Linked DNA regions of Homo sapiens: region 1 is linked to region 2. The links are contacts of gene promoters, found by promoter capture Hi-C in human tissues and cell types (Jung and others, 2019). All regions are on one chromosome and are shown on one strand. The core of a region is centred on a gene start or on the middle of the fragment in contact, and the rest is flanking DNA. Distances in the headings are between cores, read along the strand shown. Region 1 overlaps ATPAF2 (ATP synthase mitochondrial F1 complex assembly factor 2). Region 2 holds the start of RASD1 (ras related dexamethasone induced 1).

The links. Contacts are between HindIII fragments. The study calls those that stand out against the background at their distance.
Region 1: a fragment that was not itself captured here is called in contact with the fragment with the promoter of RASD1 in region 2 in 1 of the 25 tissues and cell types used here (lymphoblastoid cells).

Annotation. Positions count from the first base shown.
Region 1 is chr17:18,028,371-18,033,365 of GRCh38, forward strand. It overlaps ATPAF2 (ATP synthase mitochondrial F1 complex assembly factor 2), which reads right to left. Exons shown (of 8, transcript NM_145691.4): 2 at 245-289; 3 at 1-7. Among named protein-coding and RNA genes, the nearest start is that of ATPAF2, 8.3 kb to the right of the region's middle. The HindIII fragment of the contact is 4,448 bases long and covers 220-4,667 here.
Region 2 is chr17:17,493,928-17,498,727 of GRCh38, forward strand. It overlaps RASD1 (ras related dexamethasone induced 1), which reads right to left and starts at 2,468. Exons shown (of 2, transcript NM_016084.5): 1 at 1,969-2,468; 2 at 510-1,757. The coding sequence starts at 2,254. The coding sequence ends at 1,198. RefSeq lists silencers at 2,399-2,618, 2,779-2,908, 2,959-3,188. The HindIII fragment of the contact is 34,145 bases long and covers 1-4,800 here.

The DNA.
Region 1 (4,995 bases), core at 1,194-3,693, 530 kb after region 2:
AAGCCACCTTGAAAGATCAAATGAAAAACTCTCAGGGATTTGTTAAGTGGAATCAAGTGACCATTCCTATATTTAGCCACTTGAATTGGTGCAGACAAAGCCAACTCTGAGTCCCTTACAGAAATATATCTCACAAAAAGCAGGAAGGATAATCGCACCATGAAACCAGCTGAAGATGAAAAATGTTCCCAACCATTCACAAAAAAAAAAAAAAAAAGAGGCAGTCAAAATTTCAGACACTCACCTTCACCCTGTGTGATGCTGACATTCTGATAAAACCTCTTCCTTTCTGTAAGAAAGATTTTTCAAAGAGGCAGTTTAAAATAACGTTGAGACAACTCAGGAAGCGACAGGACCAGCTTGTATCATTACTGCTAATGTTGATTGATTGGCTTGATTTTCATATCCCCATTCAAGGTCTGCCCTACTCAACACGGTATAATCAACCGCTTCTGATTAAAGCTGGGGGAAGGGAACATCTGATCTCCAGGGAGAAGGGAGGAACAGAACATGCTGGTCATACCTCTGCCAGCCCCGCAGCCTGGGGACAAGTCTGATCAGGAGCATCTCGGCATGCTCTCCCACCCTCCCCACCACCAGTGCCACCTCATGCCAGCACAACGAGTTCAAACCTAAAGTCGGTGTCTGAGTGGGACAAAGCTAGAGACCCATTTCAGGCAAGACTCTGATGCCTCTAAGGAGTGAGTGGAAAGCCAGTGTGCGTGCGCAGGGTGTGCGTGTGTGATACATCGGCAGGATACAGAGCTCCCAAGGGCATTTCCCATCCCCTCTCTCCAATTAATTAACCTAATTAACCAGCTTGCTTGTGTATCCAACAGGAACTCCAAACATTTCCTTCAAGAATGGGAAAATCTATGTCCTTTGTTTTCTTTTGAAAATAACTTGAATAAAATCTTACATGAAACAGTCTCCTTCTTTTACCCTGGAGGGATTAACAACCAAGAGCACTTCTAAGGAATTATGCAGATTCCCTCAACTGATAACAAAGAAGTCACATTTTGGAAGCTATAAGCTATAACTCAGTCTCTCACATCTGTGACAAACACAAAACTTTCATTCATTCATTCGTTTGTTCACTCGTTCATGTGTTCACTGAGTTCTCAAAGTCTTTGGAGACCCTAACTGAAGTTATTTATTGGAAATAATGATGCAGCATGTGGAAGAAAAAAGAGTAAATCATTTGCTTTATTTATTTATTTTATTATTATTTTTTTTTTGAAATGGCGTCTCACTCTCTTGCCCAGGCTGGAGTGTAGTGGTGCAATCTCAGCTCACTGAAACCTCCACCTCCTGGGTTCAAGCGACTCTCCTGCCTCAGTCCCCTGAGTAGCTGGGATTACAGGCATGCGCCAACACACCAGGCTAATTTTTGAATTTTTAGTAGAGGCAGAGTTTTGCCATGCCAGCCAGGTTGGTCTCGAACTCCTGACCTCAAGTGATCCAACCCGTGAGCCACCATGCCCGGCCAAATAGTTTGCCTTTAACGCTAAAAAAAAAAAAAAAAAAAAAAAAAGGCTGGTCGCAGTGGCTCATGCCTATAATCCTAGCACTTTGGGAGGCCAAGGTGGGAAGACTGCTTGAGGCCAGGAGTTCAAGACCCAAGCTGGGCAACATGAGACCCCATCTCTACAAAAAATACAAAAATGAGGCCGGGCGCAGTGGCTCACGCCTGTAATCCCAGCACTTTGGGAGGCGGAGGCGGGTGGATCACCTGAGGTCAGGAGTTCGAGACCAGCCTGGTCAATGTGGTGAAACCCCATCTCTACTAAAAATACAAAAATTAGCCAGGTGTGGTGGCACATGCCTGTAGTCCCAGCTACTCGGGAGGCTGAGGCAGGAGAATCGCTTGAACCCGGGAGGCAGAGGCTGCAGTGAGCTGAGATCACGCCACTGCACTCCAGCCTGGGTGGCAGAGCAAGACTCCATCTCAAAAAAAAAAAAAAAAAAAAAAAGAAAAATTAAAAATTAGCTAGGCATGGTGGCACATGCCTGTAGTCCCCAGCTACTAGGAAGGCTGAAGCAGGAAGATTGCTTGAGCCCAGGAGGCTGAGGCTTCAGGTGAGCTGTGATGGCACCACTGCACTCCAGCCTGGGCAACAGAACAAGACCCTGTCTCTTGGGGAAAAAAAAAAAAAAAAAAAAAACAAGCTTAAGTTAAAATTTCATTAATTCAAATAGACCATGAAAATTCAGGAGAAATTAGTATGTGTGCATGGACAGGGAAGGGTAATGGAGAAGTGGGCAACTGGTTTTACTCCAAATATTTTTTTTCTTTTTCTTTTTTTTTTTTTTTTGAGATGGAGTCTCACTCTGTTGCCCACGCTGGAGTGCAGTAGCGCGATCTCAGCTCACTGCAAGCTCCACCTCCCAGGTTCACGCCATTCTCCTGCCTCAGCCTCCTGAGTAGCTGCGACTACAGGCGCCGCCACCACGCCTGGCTTTTTTTTTTTTTTTTTTTTTTTTAGTAGAGACGGGGTTTCACCGTGTTAGCCAGGATGGTCTTGATCTCCTGACCTCGTGATCCACCTGCCTTGGCCTCCCAAAGTGCTGGGATTGCAGGCGTGAGCCACCGCGCCTGGCCTTTTTTTTTTTTTTTTTTGAGATGGAGTCTCACTTTGTCGCCCAGGCTGTAGTGCAGTGGCGCGATCTCGGTTCACTGCAAGTTCTGCCTCCTCGGTTCACACCATTCTCCTGCCTCAGCCTCCCGAGTACCTGGGACTACAGGTGCCTGCCACCACGCCTGGCTAATTTTTTGCATTTTGTTTAGTAGAGGCGGGGTTTCACCATGTTAGCCAGGATGGTCTCGATCTCCTGACCTCGTGATCCGCCCACCTCAGCCTCCCAAAGTGCTGGGATTACAGGCGTGAGCCACTGCGCCCAGCCTACTCCAAATATTTTTATGTTTTCCCATCATATCAGTTTTCTATAAATCTCATTTGCTATCACTAATACTTACAGACAGAGGGCCCAAAATTGCATTCCACATTTGCACTTACTAAACTAAGGCCCAAATTGTTTTCCCACAAAAATATGTGTGTGTCTACCATGTGTCTTGGCACTTGGGATACAAGAGTGAATAAAATAGACAGAGTTTAAAGTGTTTTTTTAGGCCAGGCGCGGTGGTCACGCCTGTAATCCCAGCACTTTGGGGGGCTGAGGCGGGCGGATCACGAGGTCAGGAGATTGAGACCATCCTGGCTAACACAGTGAAACCCCATCTCTACTAAAAATACAAAAAATTAGCCGGGCGTGGTGGCGGGCGCCTGTAGTCCCAGCTACTTGGGAGGCTGAGGCAGGAGAATGGCGTGAACCCGGGAGGTGGAGCTTGCAGTGAGCTGAGATCGCACCACTGCACTCCAGCCTGGGTGACAAAGCAAGACTCCATCTCAAAAAAAAGAAAATAAAGTGTTTTTTTAGGATCAGATCTGTCCACCAAGATGATGTTGTCTTACTATGGCACCTTCATCTGAAATCACAACACTGATTATCTCATACGTTTGACACTAAAATTAGAAGTTTACAGCACCCTACTGCTTTTAAATTTCTCTACATGCTGTCCTGGTCATATCCAAATGGCAGGCTAGACATGGGTCTGGAGGCCTCCTTTCCTCTCTCAGGTCTGGAGTGAGGTAGACCATGTCCTTTGTGTTTTCCAATGCAACAGGCTGGGCTGCATGTATAAAAGCCAGGCCAGGCAGGAAGTTGGGAAGGGCTCTGAAAGCTCTGACTCAACACTGGGGAAAGGGTCTTCCCATGTCAGCAGGAAGAGCCAGCAGAGTGTACAAATGTACAAGAGTGAGCACTCTAGCATACTTCCAGGCCCGGTCTGGGAAGTGAACCCAAGAGACCTGGGGCAGACGAACAGACTCAAGGCAGGAACTGCCAGCACAGGGCTGAACCTTCAAAAGCTCCTGGGACAGCCAGGTTTCCCAAGAGGGAAGTCTTTTTTCTGTTTTGTTGGCCAGGCTCACTTCTGTAACTGAATAAGAAAAAACTAGATGGGAGTGGGATAGATGGAGGGCAGGGAAGAAGCCACCAAAAATTTCTCCAAGCAGAAGAAAACCATGCAGAAAATGAGACGGCAGAAGGGCAAAAGAAGCCCAGGGGCCGCCAGGCCTCAGATTAGAAGGCAGGTGCACATAGATGTGTTTTAGCCAGGGGCTCTCCTGAATGACCCACTGACACTTGGAGGGGCAAACGTGTCTTGGAACAAGCTTTGGTGAGTACTGATCATGTTCCAGGACATACAAGTCCTGGGGATGGGACATGTGCAAAGCTCATCTCTGCACTCTCCAGCCATTTACTGTCTAGTAGGAATACAGACACTAAACCAGGCAAACAATAAGGTGACTTCTGTGATGGGGCAGGCACGTGGAACGATTAGTCAGAATTAAATTGCAACTTGAAGGTGAGGCAGGAGGTACCAAACTTTCTGATTGATTCAATTTTTTTTTTTTTTTTTTGGCAGAGCAGGGCTGTGGAAGTAGTTTCCAGATGAAGAAACAGGTTGCATGAAGGACCAGGGTTTCTAGAGAGCAGTTGTGGACTAGACAGATGGTCAGAAGGAGAATGCAAGATTCTCTAAGATGCTAGAGAGGGCAATGGGGCCACATATGGGGGACATGTAGATCACTGCAAAGACAGCAAAGGGAGCCAAGTAAAGGCTCCACACAGGCATACAGGAACTTGATCTGGGGCCGGGCATGGTGGCTCATGCCTGTAATCCCAGAACTTTGTGAGGCCGAGGGGGACAGATCACTTAAAGCCAGGAGCTCAAGAGCAGCCTGGCCAACATGGTGAAACCCTGTCTCTACAAAAAATTAAAAAATTGGCGAGGTGTGGTATTGCCTGCCTGTAATACCAGCTACTCAGGAGGCTGAAAATCAGTTGAACCCAGGAGGCGGAGGTTGTAGTGAACCAAGATTGCGCCACTGCACCCCAACCAGGGTGACAGAATGAGACTCTGTCTCAAAA
Region 2 (4,800 bases), core at 1,218-3,717:
CCTGGAGTGAGCGGGTGGTGGGGGCGCGCCAGGATGGTCCTGTTTCCAGATGGGGTCTCAGGCTCTTTCCCCAGGGCCTGACTGATGCCTCCAACAGTCCGAAAGTTTGCCTGGGCCCACACTGAGTCTGGTGACAAAATGGTTAGGCACAGTTCCAGTGGCTTTTACGCTGAAGAATTCAGAACATTCTCTCAGAAAATGAGGCCTTTTGTCATCTAACCCAAAGAAAATTAAGCGGGTGGATGGCTAGAAAGAGTTCATCTCCAGGGGGGACCCTGAAATCCTTTATATTCTTCCCGGTTTTCTAGGGAACCATCCCCTACATAGATGCCCCAGGCATCTGGGGCTTTTCTGGCAGCTGAAGCTGCCTTCAGAAGGCCAGGGTTATTTTCCAGTTCTGGGGAAGGTAAGTTCTAGTTCCACCTAAGTCAAAGCCCAGCCCTTTCCTTCTCCCCACCCTTCCCCACTCCAGCCATCTCTAAAAGCAAAAAAAAAAAAAAAAAAACCGGTTTTCCATTTTAAATTATTTTATTGTATATTAAAAAACCAAATAAAGCAATAACTTTAAAGACCTCAGACACACACAGTATAAACACCTGGGTAAGGTTTTGTTCGTGTCCATGTTGACACCGGAACTACCGTTAAAGTGCAAGTTTTGTTTTGTGTTCCTTTGTGCAGTTTCACTCACATGTAAACAAGTCACTTGGCTATGATTTGACCCACGCCCCCCCGCTTAGTTTTGGGAGGGCAGAGGCTCTACCGGCTGTCACAGCAACCCGGAATCACAGACAAGATAATGCCCCGTGGGTCCTGACCCTCAAGCGGGCATGACGGTTTCTTGAAGCCTAGCAGAGGCTGGATAACTTCACATCCCTCCCCCACCCCGCGCTCACTCTTAGGTCTTTGAGAAGATAAATCCACCCTCGGCTGGGCCCTCGCTCCCAAAGTTATGGGGGTGGCGGGCCTCAATGGGGGACCGGGGGTGGGGAATAGTCCCAGTCTTGGCCCGTTCTCTTTCCTTCCGGAGCAGATGACCGTCCCTTCTCGGTTCAGTGGCGCCTCCCCAGTGCTGGGGGCGGATCGCCGGGAGGGGAGACGCCAGTCCGCGCGCGCTCCCGGCCTGGGGCGCACCGGGCCGTTGGATTTGACTTAACAAAAAGGTCCTCCTTAGGTTGTGTCGCCAGCGCGGCGGGGCTCCTAGCTGATGACGCAGCGCTCCTTGTCCTTGGCCTGGCTGCCGGCGCTGGCCTTCTCGCGGATGTACATGAGGTCGCTGTGTACGCTGGGCCGGCGCGCGAAGGGTGCCACGATGCCAAAGGCGTCGCCCGGGTCGCCGCCGCCGCCGCCGCTGCCGGCCCGCAGCAGCTTCTTGTTCCGCAGCGCCTTCTTGTGCAGCACGTCGCAGTACTGCACCGAGACCTTGCGGTGCAGGTCTGGGCTCATCTCGCTGGGCAGCTTGGCCATGGCGAAGAGCGCGCGGAACATCTGGTCCAGGCTGCTGTTCTTCTTGGCCGAGATCTCGAAGTAGGCGCAGCGCTGGGGGTCGTCGCCCACCAGCTGCTCGATCTCGCGCTGGTCCACCTCGCGGTAGAAGTCGCGGTCACCCTTGTTGCCGCAGATGACCAGGGGCACGTCCACGTTCTCCTTGGTTTTGTTCTTGAGGCAAGACTTGGTGTCGAGGATCTGCTGCCTGAGCCGCTGCACCTCCTCGAAGGAGTCGCGGTTGTCCAGACTGAACACCAGGATGAAAACGTCTCCTAGAGGGGGCACAGAGAGCAGAAAAGGAGAAGGTGAGGGTGGCCGCCCAGGGGACAAGTCGGGCTGACTTTGAGGCCGCGCGGGGCGCGCTAGCCTCTCTAAGCGCGAAGCGCACTACTCGGCGCGCGGCAGCCGGACCGGCGCTCGCGGGGCGCCCTGGCCGAGGGTTCCCCGCCCTTCCCTCCCGCACCTGCCCGGCCCCCGGCTCACCTGTGAGGATGGAGAGGCGCCGCATGGCGGGGAACGGGTGGTTGCCGGACGTGTCGAGGATGTCGAGCTGGTAGACCTCGCCGCGGATGGAGTAGAACTTGCGGTGGAAGTCCTCGATGGTAGGCGTGTAGGCGTCCTCGAAGCGGCCGGTGAGGAAGCGCGACACGATGGCCGTCTTGCCCACCTTGGACGAGCCGAGGATGACCATGCGATAGCAGTTCTTGGCCGGGATACTCAGCTCCGAGTCGCTCGGGCACATCTTCTTGATCATCGCGGCCAGTTTCATTGGGCAGAGGGGCCGCGAGGGCGGGCGCGGGGCCGAGAGAAGGGCAGAGAGCGGCTGAGGGTCGCTGGGGTGGCACGCGGGGTGAGCGGCTGGAGGGCTCTGCTCGGGCTGGGCGCGGCTCGGGCTTGGGGCTCCGGCTCCGCTCGGGCTGGGCTCGGGCTAGGCTGGGCTCGGCTGGGGTTCTCCCAGGATCTGGGCACAGGCCGCTTGCTCTGGCTTTGGCGCCCGGCCGCCGCCCTTATATGCAGCCTGCTCGGCTGCCCCGCCCCGGCCCTCCCAGCTCGGTGCGTCACGCCCCGCGGGGCCCGCCTCCCCCGCACCGGCTCCCAGTCCCGGCGACCTCGTCACCCGCTGCCGGGCTCCTGCTCTCTGGGCGCGGGGGCTGGGGGGAGCAGTCCAGGGTCGGGCTGAGGCTGGAGGCGCTCGGACTCCGCTTTTCCACTGCCGCGGGCTCGGCGGCCGCAGGGGCGTCGGGGTTCTGGTCCCGGCGGTGCCCCTGTCCCTCTGCGACTTCGGGCAAGGACCCCCATTCCTGCACCTCCCGCGCGCGTACACTTATTTTCTTTGGTTCTCAGTTTCCCCAGAGAATAGGAATCTAGTAAGTAACCCAGTAAGCGCAGCAGCGTTTGCTGAGTGCTTGCGCGGACCGTATATTGCAGTCCTCAGAGCACAGCCCCAGCCCCAGCCCCCTTCCGCTCCGGTCCCCAGCCGGGCTCTTGTTCCCGGGAGGCGACCGCCGGGCGGACGCGGGGTTTCAGGGCCTCAGGCGCGGAGCTCGGCACCGCGCGCTCGGGCCGCCAGAGGGCAGCAGAGGGCCCGGCCGGCGGCTCGGGGAGGCTGTGGCCGCCGCGGGCAGAGCTAGAACAGAGGCTAGGAGCAGGCGGGTGGGGAGCGGCAGGGATGGAGCAGGGGTCTCAGGGCGCCTTGCTGGGGCCCAACAGGAGCGGTCCCCAACCCCGCGCTCTGCTGCAGGCCTCAGCCTGCTCCTTTCTCCCAGCCAGAGATGCTCTGTGGTATGGAGGGCTCTGCAGCCAGCGGCCCACCCCGTCCATCATAGCATTTTGGGCTTTTACTGTGCCGCGCGTGGGCCGACGTTCTCATTGTCTAGCTGAGAGACCTGGAGCTCAAAGCCACAGCGAGCCAGGAAGGCCCTGGGAGCACAGCACAGCCTCTTGCTTTCTCCTGGGCCTCAGTTTTCTCTTCTGGAAGATACTGATTCTGGTTCTGTGATTAAGGATGAAAATATGCAAATGCTTTAGGAGGGCGGGGCCTGGTAATAACAATAGCAACAATAACAGTAGTATTGACCCATGAGGCCTGGTGGGGGTACTCTCAAGAGCACACCAGGTCGATCAGTAACCAGGAGTGGGGTGATGTTGCTGAACATTGGCAACAGGCTGTCTGGAGCCAGCTCCTCAGCCCTGAGCTCTTGAGGCAGTCACTGCTCCTCAAGGCAACCTGTGTGCTCAGTGTTTTGCTTTGGCCACGTCTGACTTACGAGAAAACTAGGGAGCCATTAGCTGGCACCACCGGCCCAGCTGTCAGGTGGTGGTCTGCAGGCAGTGCTGTGAGTGCCATACCACCCACCCCATGCCTACCCACCTCCCTCCCACGCTGGCACTTGCTGTAGGGGCTGCTGCAGGACACCACTAACTTGTTTCTCAGCCCAGCTTGGCCCCCATCCTCAGAGTCCCTGCATCTCTCCCAGGCCTCACTCTTACTGTCAGATATTTCAAATGCACGCATCACACAGTGAGCATCCAAGGGCTCATCAGTGGCCCTGGCCTGGCTCTGATTCCTGGTGTCACTTATGCAGCAGTTATCCGACAGGCTAGCTGGGGCTGGAGCCCCGCCATTCTTGGTTCCTGCCCCCATCTGAGGTATGTCTGCCAGAGTCTGGGAGAAGGGGAGAAGGAACTGAGTCGCAGCCCTGGATATAGGGCTGCAGTGGTGCAGGGTGTTCACTGCATAAAGGAGCCAGTTGAGGGTACATGGGGGGGCTCAGTTAAGGTACGGACCTGAACCACCTTCAGACTGAGCACCGCCTTCCTGTGCCTCCCACAGCGGCACTGCATGGGCAGCCGGGCTCTAACTTGGGATGACTGATGGCCAGGGCTATAGTGAAGGTGGACCCCACACAGCCATTGCCTCCTGGGGCTCTAGTCCCAAGAGGGTCCATTTGATATGAGTGGAGGGCCCGAGGGTCAAGGATCACAGCCCAGCTCTCCCCTGGTCAGTGTCCAGGCTGGCCCCTTAAATCAGGAACATGACACTGGCAGGCACTGATCTAGCCTGTGTCCTCAGCCACAGTGATTCCTGGTACCATCTGTGCATGGCCGTCTGCCCTACGGATGCTGGGTTGTGAAGACCCAGGCCCACCTGCCATTCCCATTCTGAATGCCCCAGAGCGCCTCCTGTCAAGGAGGTGGCCTCTGGGACTTTACTCCTCAAGCAGCAAGCCAACTTCCTTGTTTCCGCCCTCGTCTTTTCTTTTAAAAGGGCATCTCTTTCCTTTTATTACAAAAGTAATAAATGCTCATGGTTTT